Regions from separate parts of the Homo sapiens genome. Here all the other regions are linked to region 2. Evidence: promoter capture Hi-C in human tissues and cell types (Jung and others, 2019). All regions are on one chromosome and are shown on one strand. Each heading gives the region's core, a stretch centred on a gene start or on the middle of the fragment in contact. The rest is flanking DNA. Distances are from core to core; before and after follow the strand shown. Region 1 has its middle 140 kb from the start of WASF3. Region 2 holds the start of RNF6 (ring finger protein 6). Region 3 overlaps CDK8 (cyclin dependent kinase 8).

The links. Contacts are between HindIII fragments. The study calls those that stand out against the background at their distance.
Region 1: a contact is called between a fragment that was not itself captured here and the fragment with the promoter of RNF6 in region 2, in 3 of the 25 tissues and cell types used here (H1 embryonic stem cells, aorta and mesendoderm cells).
Region 3: a fragment that was not itself captured here is called in contact with the fragment with the promoter of RNF6 in region 2 in 2 of the 25 tissues and cell types used here (dorsolateral prefrontal cortex and liver).

Annotation. Positions count from the first base shown.
Region 1 is chr13:26,413,056-26,415,755 of GRCh38, forward strand. No RefSeq gene overlaps it. Among named protein-coding and RNA genes, the nearest start is that of WASF3, 140 kb to the right of the region's middle. The HindIII fragment of the contact is 4,213 bases long and covers 1-2,700 here.
Region 2 is chr13:26,221,043-26,223,742 of GRCh38, forward strand. It overlaps RNF6 (ring finger protein 6), which reads right to left and starts at 1,272. Exons shown (of 5, transcript NM_005977.4): 1 at 961-1,272; 2 at 206-288. RefSeq lists enhancers at 44-925, 926-1,807, 953-1,332 and a silencer at 453-502. The HindIII fragment of the contact is 8,375 bases long and covers 1-2,700 here.
Region 3 is chr13:26,366,603-26,369,352 of GRCh38, forward strand. The region is part of intron 4 of CDK8 (cyclin dependent kinase 8); the gene reads left to right. Among named protein-coding and RNA genes, the nearest start is that of CDK8, 110 kb to the left of the region's middle. The HindIII fragment of the contact is 5,412 bases long and covers 1-2,750 here.

The sequences.
Region 1 (2,700 bases), core at 191-2,690, 190 kb after region 2:
GGATGGTAGACCAATGCAAACAGTGTAAACCGAACCAAGTAATAGCTCCAATTACAGCTGCTGTGCCAGATGTGTTATCTTTACTAAAACAGATCAACACAGCCCCTAGCACTTTGTATGTGGCTTTTGATGTGGCAAACGCATTATTCCCTTCTATAAGGAAAATCAAAAACATGTTTACATAGGAAGGACAATAGTACAGCCTCTCTTTTACCCCAAGGCTATATTAACTCTCCTGCTCTTTGTTATAATATAGTCTGCAGGGTAGTGCTGCTGGAAAGATGGCAGAATTGGAAGCTATCAGGAATCTATCTGTCCACCTGGACAACAATTGTACTGGCAGAAACAGTCTCAAGTAACCATTTTGGAACTCAGTTTATTTGAATACTTGAAACTTCCAGGGACCAGCTTAGCTGGTAAATTTCAGTTGATATCAGCTATCAGTGTGGTGGCAGGCAGCTGGGGAATGGCAGCCCATATCTCTGGCACATCTTGCTGGAGCCATGACAGGCAATAATGACCTTGTCCTTCAAATAGTGGGGTTCCGTGTTCTCACGGGATTGCTGTTTGATCACTGATTAGTGAGTAAAGAGTTTGGATGTCATTGTATGAATTCCTCCCAGCTGAAGCAGCTTCCAGGAGATTTAAAGGAACTATACCTGTTTGTTTGTTTGTCTGTCTGTCTTTGGACATTCAAAAACAAGCATGTATATGGGGAAATTTAGAATGCCACTTTGCATGCCTAGGGAAAGACACAGGCTCAGAAAAGACATGAGAAGACATTAAGCTTTCACCTCAAGCTGATCCCTGGCACAAATACACCATACAACAATCAAAAGACAGCAAACACTGGGTAAGAGGGAGAATCTGTTTTCCAGAGTTTCCACGTCATAAGATTCGAACATCCAGTTTTCAGAATGAACAAACAAAAAGGCATACAAAGAAATAGAAAACTATGGCCCATTCAAGGGAACAAAATAAGTTGACACAAAATGTACATGAAGCTCAGACATTAGACTTACTAGACAAAGACTTTAAAACAACTGTCTTTTAGCTGGGCATGGTGGTGCACACCTGTAGTCCCAGCTACTTGGGAGGCTGAGGTAGGAGAATCACTTGAACCCAGGAGACGGAGGTTGCAGTGAGCTGAGATCACGACACTGCACTTCAGCCTGGCACAGAGAGAGATTCCGTCTCAAACAAAAACAAAAACAAAAACAAAAACAAAACGAAAAAAAATGTCTTAAGGATTCAAAGAACTCAAGGAAGACATAGACAAAGATATGCAGAAATGATATATGAACAAAATAAGAGTATCAATAGAAATTTTAAAAGAGAAGCAAAAAGAAATCTTGAAGCTGAAAAGTATGATAATTGAAAGAAAATATGTACTAGAAAGTTTCAAAAACGGATTTGAGCAAGCAGAAGAATCAGTGAACTTAAAAGTTAAATTTTTATAAACTTAATTAGATTGTTACAACTCTAAGATGTTAAATGTAATTCCCATGATGACCACAAAGAAAATAGCTATAGAGTATACACAAAAGGAAATTAGAGGGGAATAAAAGTTTCACTCCAAGAAATCATTTTTTTACTAAACACCTAAGAAGGCAATATTACAGGAAATGAGGTAGCTAAAAGTCATAAGGTATGTAGAAAACAAATAGCAAAATATCAGAAGGAAGTCCTCCTTATATTACTTTAAACACAAATGGATTCAATTCTCCAATCAAAAAACAAGGATTGGCAGACTGGATTTTTAAAATATAATCCAACTATATGTTGTCTATGACACTAACTTTAGACTCAGTGACACAAATAGGTTAAAAGTAAAACGATGGAAAAGGACAGTAATGCAAATAGCCATCAAAAGAGAGCTGGAGTAGCTATACTAATATCTGATAAAATAGACTTTACATTTTAAAAAATTATAAGAGAAAAATATATACATTACATATTAATAAACATTGATACTGCAAGATACATAGCAGTTATAAACATTTACACATCTAATAACAGACCTTCAAAACATCCTCTGTGCTCCATTGATTCATGCCTCCTTACCCTAAGGGTGGCTCAAAATAAAACTATAAATGTAATACATCAGATTAATATAACAAAAGGGAAAAACCACATGATCAAGTCAATTGATGCAGAAAAGGCATTTGACAAAATCCTATACCCTTCCATAATTAAAAAAAAAAAACAACTCTCAGAAAACTAGTATTATAGGGAAAATTCCTCAACATGATAAAATACCTAAACATGATAAAAACACATCCAATATTGTACTCAAGGGTGAAAGACTGAAAGCTTTCCCTTAAAATCAGAACAAGACAAGGGTGCCTGCTTTCACCACTTCTACTCAACATTGTGCTAGAAGTTCTAGTCAGAGTTAATAGATAAGAAAAAGAAATTTTAAAAATTGAAAAGGATGAGAGGAAACTACCTCTAATCACAAATGACATGATATTGTATATAGAAAATTCTAAAAAATCCGCAAGAAATCTATTAGGGTGAATAAACAAATGCAGCAAGGTCTTGTGGCCTCACAAAGTCAACACACAAAAATCAGTTGTATTTCTGTACACCAGCAGTGAAAAATCCAAAAAAAAGTTAGGAAAGCAAGTTGAATCTCATCAGCATCTAAAAGAATTAAATGGGGCAAGGTGCGGTGGCTCATGCCTATAATCCCAACAC
Region 2 (2,700 bases), core at 22-2,521:
TCAAGATCTCTATCTTCAGATTAAGACCATAATTAGCAAAGAGCATATTTCGTAGGTACAGCAATAATAGGATTTTTGTAATAAATAATTTTACAAGTTGAAGCCTATCATAAAATCAAGTTACCCTAATATTATTTAAAACTTGAGCTTCTCCTTAAAGGTAATTTTCTTATACAGTTAATCACAATGAAAACAAAGCGAATACCTTATTTTCCTTTCAACACGCTTTTAACATATGCCATGGTATCCATCCTTCAATTGTTTGTGCCTTTTTTGAGAGCTGCCCATCTGAAGCAATAAAAGAGAGTTGAATAATTCAATAAACTGTTTCTTTAAAGGCCAGGAACGGGTGGTAGTCTCCCCACTCTGCTGCAAAGCCAAAGCAAATTCTCCAGTGGATTTTGTTAGACACATCTAGAAAATTAGATCCCCATACAATTAGGTCACGAAAACCTCCCGCAAGGCCCCTACCTTCCGCAACAAACTTAGGCCTTTCGTCCTACACTGTCACTGTTCCTGGGTTTACGCCTCCTCTCTCAAAGGCCTTCCTTCCTATCCCGTTCCCATTCGGATGTTACCAGGGTTAGGCGTCTCCGGCTTACTTCTAAACCTTGACTTTCTTGCCACCCCCGCCCTCCGTCCCGCTACTGGTTTCTTTCCCGGCCGTTGCGACGGAAGCTCGCGCCGGGGGACGATCCCCACTACGATAAATAAAGTGGGCTCAAGAGGCCCAACCAACCTCTTCCCAACCGAGCCTCAAGTAACGCTTCCCTTAGAGACCTAGATTCTCACAAGGAAGCAGGTGATAGACGGTGCATCCCAACCAATCACCAGCCAGCGGAGCGCAATAAGAAGGCAGTTAACCAATCGGAGAAGAGATGGGTGGCTCGAAGGATGGCCTGCTTTCCCCGGCGTCTCCAGGAAGTAGTGGTGGGACCCAGATCTTTCCCTCGAGCCCACCTCTCCAGGTCTTGGGCCTTCGCCCTCCTGTCCGGAGAACGTGTGCTGTGGGCGGCCGTTCTCTCGGGTGCTGGAGGCTGTGGTTGGGAGGCGGGATAGGCTTGCCGCCGCGCCTCCGGAGCCCGCTGTGCCCTCGAATTGGCCACTGAGGAGAGAAGCCGGAAGCCCGTGCTGCAGCGTGGGGTCGTCCAGCTGGAGGGGATACTCGGGAGGAAGAACGGCAGGCCCCAGCCCTTCTTTCCCGACAGCCACGCCGCCCACTTGGCGGCGGGGAGTCGCTCCGCAGCCGGCCCGGAGCTCGCCCGTGCAACTGAAAACTGCGTCCGTCGGGAGCTAGGGTGCCTGGCGTCCCGCGTTCCGCCCTCTTGCGCCGCCCTTACAGTGCCTCCTCCTCGAGGCCAAATGCCCGGCCGCTCAGCGCTCGTGGCAGCCGCGTAGTTGCAGAGACACGGTCTGCTTTCCAGGCTTGGGAAGTCCCAGCACTTAACTCTGCGCGTCGGTGTCGCTCGTTTGCCAGCCAGACTATAAAGTGCACCCAACGGTGTATGCGTCTCTTTACTTCCGGGTGTAACGTACTACCCAGCCAGGCCCTTTCCCTTGCTGTGCTTTGGAACCTGGAAATTACAAACCCTAATAAATTCTGAAGTCTGTCTGTCTGTCTATCTCTATTTGAGACAAGGTCTCATCCTGTCGCCCAGGCTAGAGCGATCGTAGCTCACTGCAGCCTCCAGCGATCCTCCCTCCTCATCCCAGTAGCTGGAACTACAGGCGCTTGCCATTAATTTCACATTTTTTCTTTTGTAGAGACGGGGGTCTCGCTATGTTGCCCAGGCTGGTTTCGTACTCGGCCTCAAGCAATCCTCTCACCTCAGCAAAATGGGATTACAGGCATGAGGCACCGCACCCCACTATATTTTGTGTTTTTTCACCTTCCCGCTAGGAAAGCAGTTTGAAACTCCCAACATTCCTCCCTCTGATTTTATTTCTGAGATGTGAGGCTTACTAAACTTACCTCACCGTTAGTTAAGATGCTGAGTAGGTCTCTGTCTAACCTGGTATAGTCCCCTTTCCTGACATCCCTACCATCTGATGACTTCATCACTGGAGAGTGCTCACAATGCCGTTACTTGTTATTCTTCCGTTTGTTCTTTCATTTCTGCATTAACTTTTGAGGAACTACCATATCCCCATTATTATGCTGGGCACCTGGATAACAAGCTACATGCAGTCCTTAGCATCAATGAGCTACCAGTGTAGTAAGGATCTATGGACAAGTGTTTAAAATAAGCATATGGATATGGATACTAAAATGGAAATATATAAAACAGCCTAGAAAGCCCTTCCAGATCTTTCTTCTGCTTACATTTACAGGCTGTTGTCTTGGCACTCCGAAACTGCTTGAAGTTCCGCCACAAGATATGGGAACTCCTAAGCAACCCCCAACTCCACTTTTACCTAATTTCCTCTGTCTCCCAAAACTCAGCTCAGTTCTCATCTTTAAGGAATTTTTCCTGATACCTCTGAAATAACACCCTTACCTCACCCTCCAGCCCGATATTTACACATAAAACTAAGCAAATGTCCCTTTTGGGGGCTCCCATACTCCCTCTATATATAAAACCCTATTTTAGCATGTATTCATGTATTTAACAAATAGTGAGTGTGACTATGTATTAGGTGCTGGTGATGACAGCCGTGAATCAGACAGTCATGTCCTCATAGAATGAAGTCCTTGCCCTC
Region 3 (2,750 bases), core at 181-2,680, 150 kb after region 2:
ATCTTACTAAAAGTATAATACTCTAAGTAGGTATGTGTTCTGAAGATTCCTCTCTGTTCCCAAATAGATGTGTGAATTTCTAAAATCAATTTCTATTCTAATTTCCAGTCTTTTCAGATCACAGACAGGCTTGTAATTCAGGTCAGTGTAGTTTAAGATGCCTATTTAATAAAAACATAGAAGTTGGGAAGATAGATTGCTAATTTTTAAAAATTCATTTAACATCTGTTTATGTAAACATCTTGAACCATTTGAAATAAGATCATTTTTTGTTTTCCCTAATTTCACAGACTAATAGGCCTTAAAGTTGGAAGGCATCTTAGCAGCAACAGACTATTCCAGTCTCTTAGCTGCCATAGTAATTCTTGGTAATATGCGGGGCAGACAACCCTGCTGACACTGGTCGAACATTTCCATCATGGCTAACTTTCTGTCTTATTAGAGTAAACTTGTTGTTACACAGCTATAATCCTTGAAGGTAGAGTCAGAAATTTGGAATTCCTAATACTCATCCTTTGGGCCCTCTCTTCCTTGATTGGTCTTCTCTTTTTTCCCCCCTTCTGGTTAACACTAGATGGTAAAATCAAATGTCTGAAAAACAAACAAACAAAAAACAAAAACAAATGTCTGAACCTTGATGCTGAAGAGGGGCTAAGGGAGATCCAAAAATAAAAGGCAGAGCAAAATAAAGAACAACAAAAGGAGAAATTAAGAAGAAAAATAAGAAAGGGTTGCACATGGTAGGAAGCGATAGAAAATCTTGGGTTATCTATCCTTGAATAATTTTTTTTTTTTAATCAGCATGGGCCAAAGAGGAAAAATTAAGCCCCTGTTATAGTGGACCTGAGATTTGTTTGAATCTTTGTTCTACCACTTAATTGTGTTACCATGGGAAGCATTAACCTGTCTGTCACTTTTCTCAGCTATAAAATGGGGCCAGACCTATTTGTTTTTTCCTTTGGGTAGAGATTGATGTGAAGACTGGCACATAATAAATGTTCATTAAGTACATTTCACTTTTCAAGTTGCCCTGTGAATATTAAGTACATGAGGATTAAGAGCTTTATCCGTTTTGTTTACTGCTATATCATCACTATCCAGAATGTTACACGGTGCATATTGGATGCCTATAAATAGCTTACTGAATGAATAAGTAGATTTTTTTGTTAGCTCTTCCTTCAAAACATCTCAGATCCAGCTATAGTGAGACCTTATTGGAATTCAAATTCGAATAAAGCACAATTGGCAATTGGTCCTTATCATCTGCCTGGTATCTTTTTCTCAAAGAAGAGTCAACTGTAGTGCTTATTTTCAAGGAGAGGAATCCATGAAAGGAAGGGCAGATTTGGCAGGGATTCTGGACTTATTAGCCCAGTGTCCCTGGATCAATCCAATAAATCATTTGCCATCTTACAAGGAGATTTCAGAATTTTCTGCTGCTGGGAAATGGATTTGGATTGCCCAGATGGTCATTGGGATTGCTAGTTGTAGAGGTTCACCTTGTCCATTTCATTAATATCTGTTTACCCTACCCCTAGCTAGACCCCACATTTTACACAGTCGAATTTTTCGGACTCCAATAATTGCCTCATGGTCTTGCTGCTCACCGTTTCTGTCACCACTACTCTAATTCAGGCCACTTGGATTACTGCAGAAACTCCCCAGTGATCTTCCTCTCTTGTTGTCTTGTGTTTGTTTGATCTAATAACTACAAACAAAATGATCTCTCTAAAAACCAAATCACATCGTGTCATTCCCCTATTTAAAATTCCTCAATATCTTCCCACCTGGGAGACTGATATATTCAAAATCTTTCCTAAACACATTGTACAGTATAATGTCTTTTTACCGTGGTGAAAGCTGCACCATTATTTTATGTACCACTAAGAAAGAAAACATGCTGCCAATTTACTATCACACCACGGAGGCTGAGACACATCTTGCTTTCAGAAATTCTAAGATTTAAAAAGAAAAGTAAAAATTGGAATCCATGAAATGCATTTTCTTCTTGTCATATAGTAATGGTTAGGACTTATTCACTAATACAGTGGCAAATATAATAGAAGTGACTTATTTCTGTCTTTAAGGAGAATTCTTAAGTTTCACTATTAGATATGATATTTACTTTGGGGTTTTAGTTAAAGGTAAAAGATGTTCCCTTCTGTGCCTGGTTAAGTTGTTTGTTTCTAAATCAATAATATTGCTTTTTCTGCGTCTTCTGGGATGATCATATGGTTATTTCCTTTAATCCATTAATGTGGTAAATTACATTTATATTGTTTTCTTTTGTTTTTAATGTTGAACCCTCCTTGCAGTGGAACCAACACACTGTCATGATGTTTTTTTTTCATTCACTAGTAGATTCCGCTTGCTAATACTTTGTTTTGTCTATTTTCACAAGTAAGTTTGGTCAGTAATCTTCTGTTCGTATATTACCTTTATCCTGTTTTGTTATCATGATTTTATTAGCCTCAGAAGACGCTTTTAGTCTCTGGAATAGTTTGTATAATATAGGAATTATTTGTTCCTTGAAAGTTAGTAAAAGTCAGCCAGGGGCGGCAGCTCATGGCTGTAATCCCAGCACTTTGGGAGGCTGAGGTGGGAGGATTGCTTGGAAGGATTGCTTGAGCCCAGGAGTTCAAGACCAGCCTGGACAGCATGGTGAAATGCCATCTCTACAAAAAAAAAAATGCAGAAATTCGCCAGGTGTGGTGATGCATGCCTGTGGTCTCAGCTACTCAGGAGGCTGA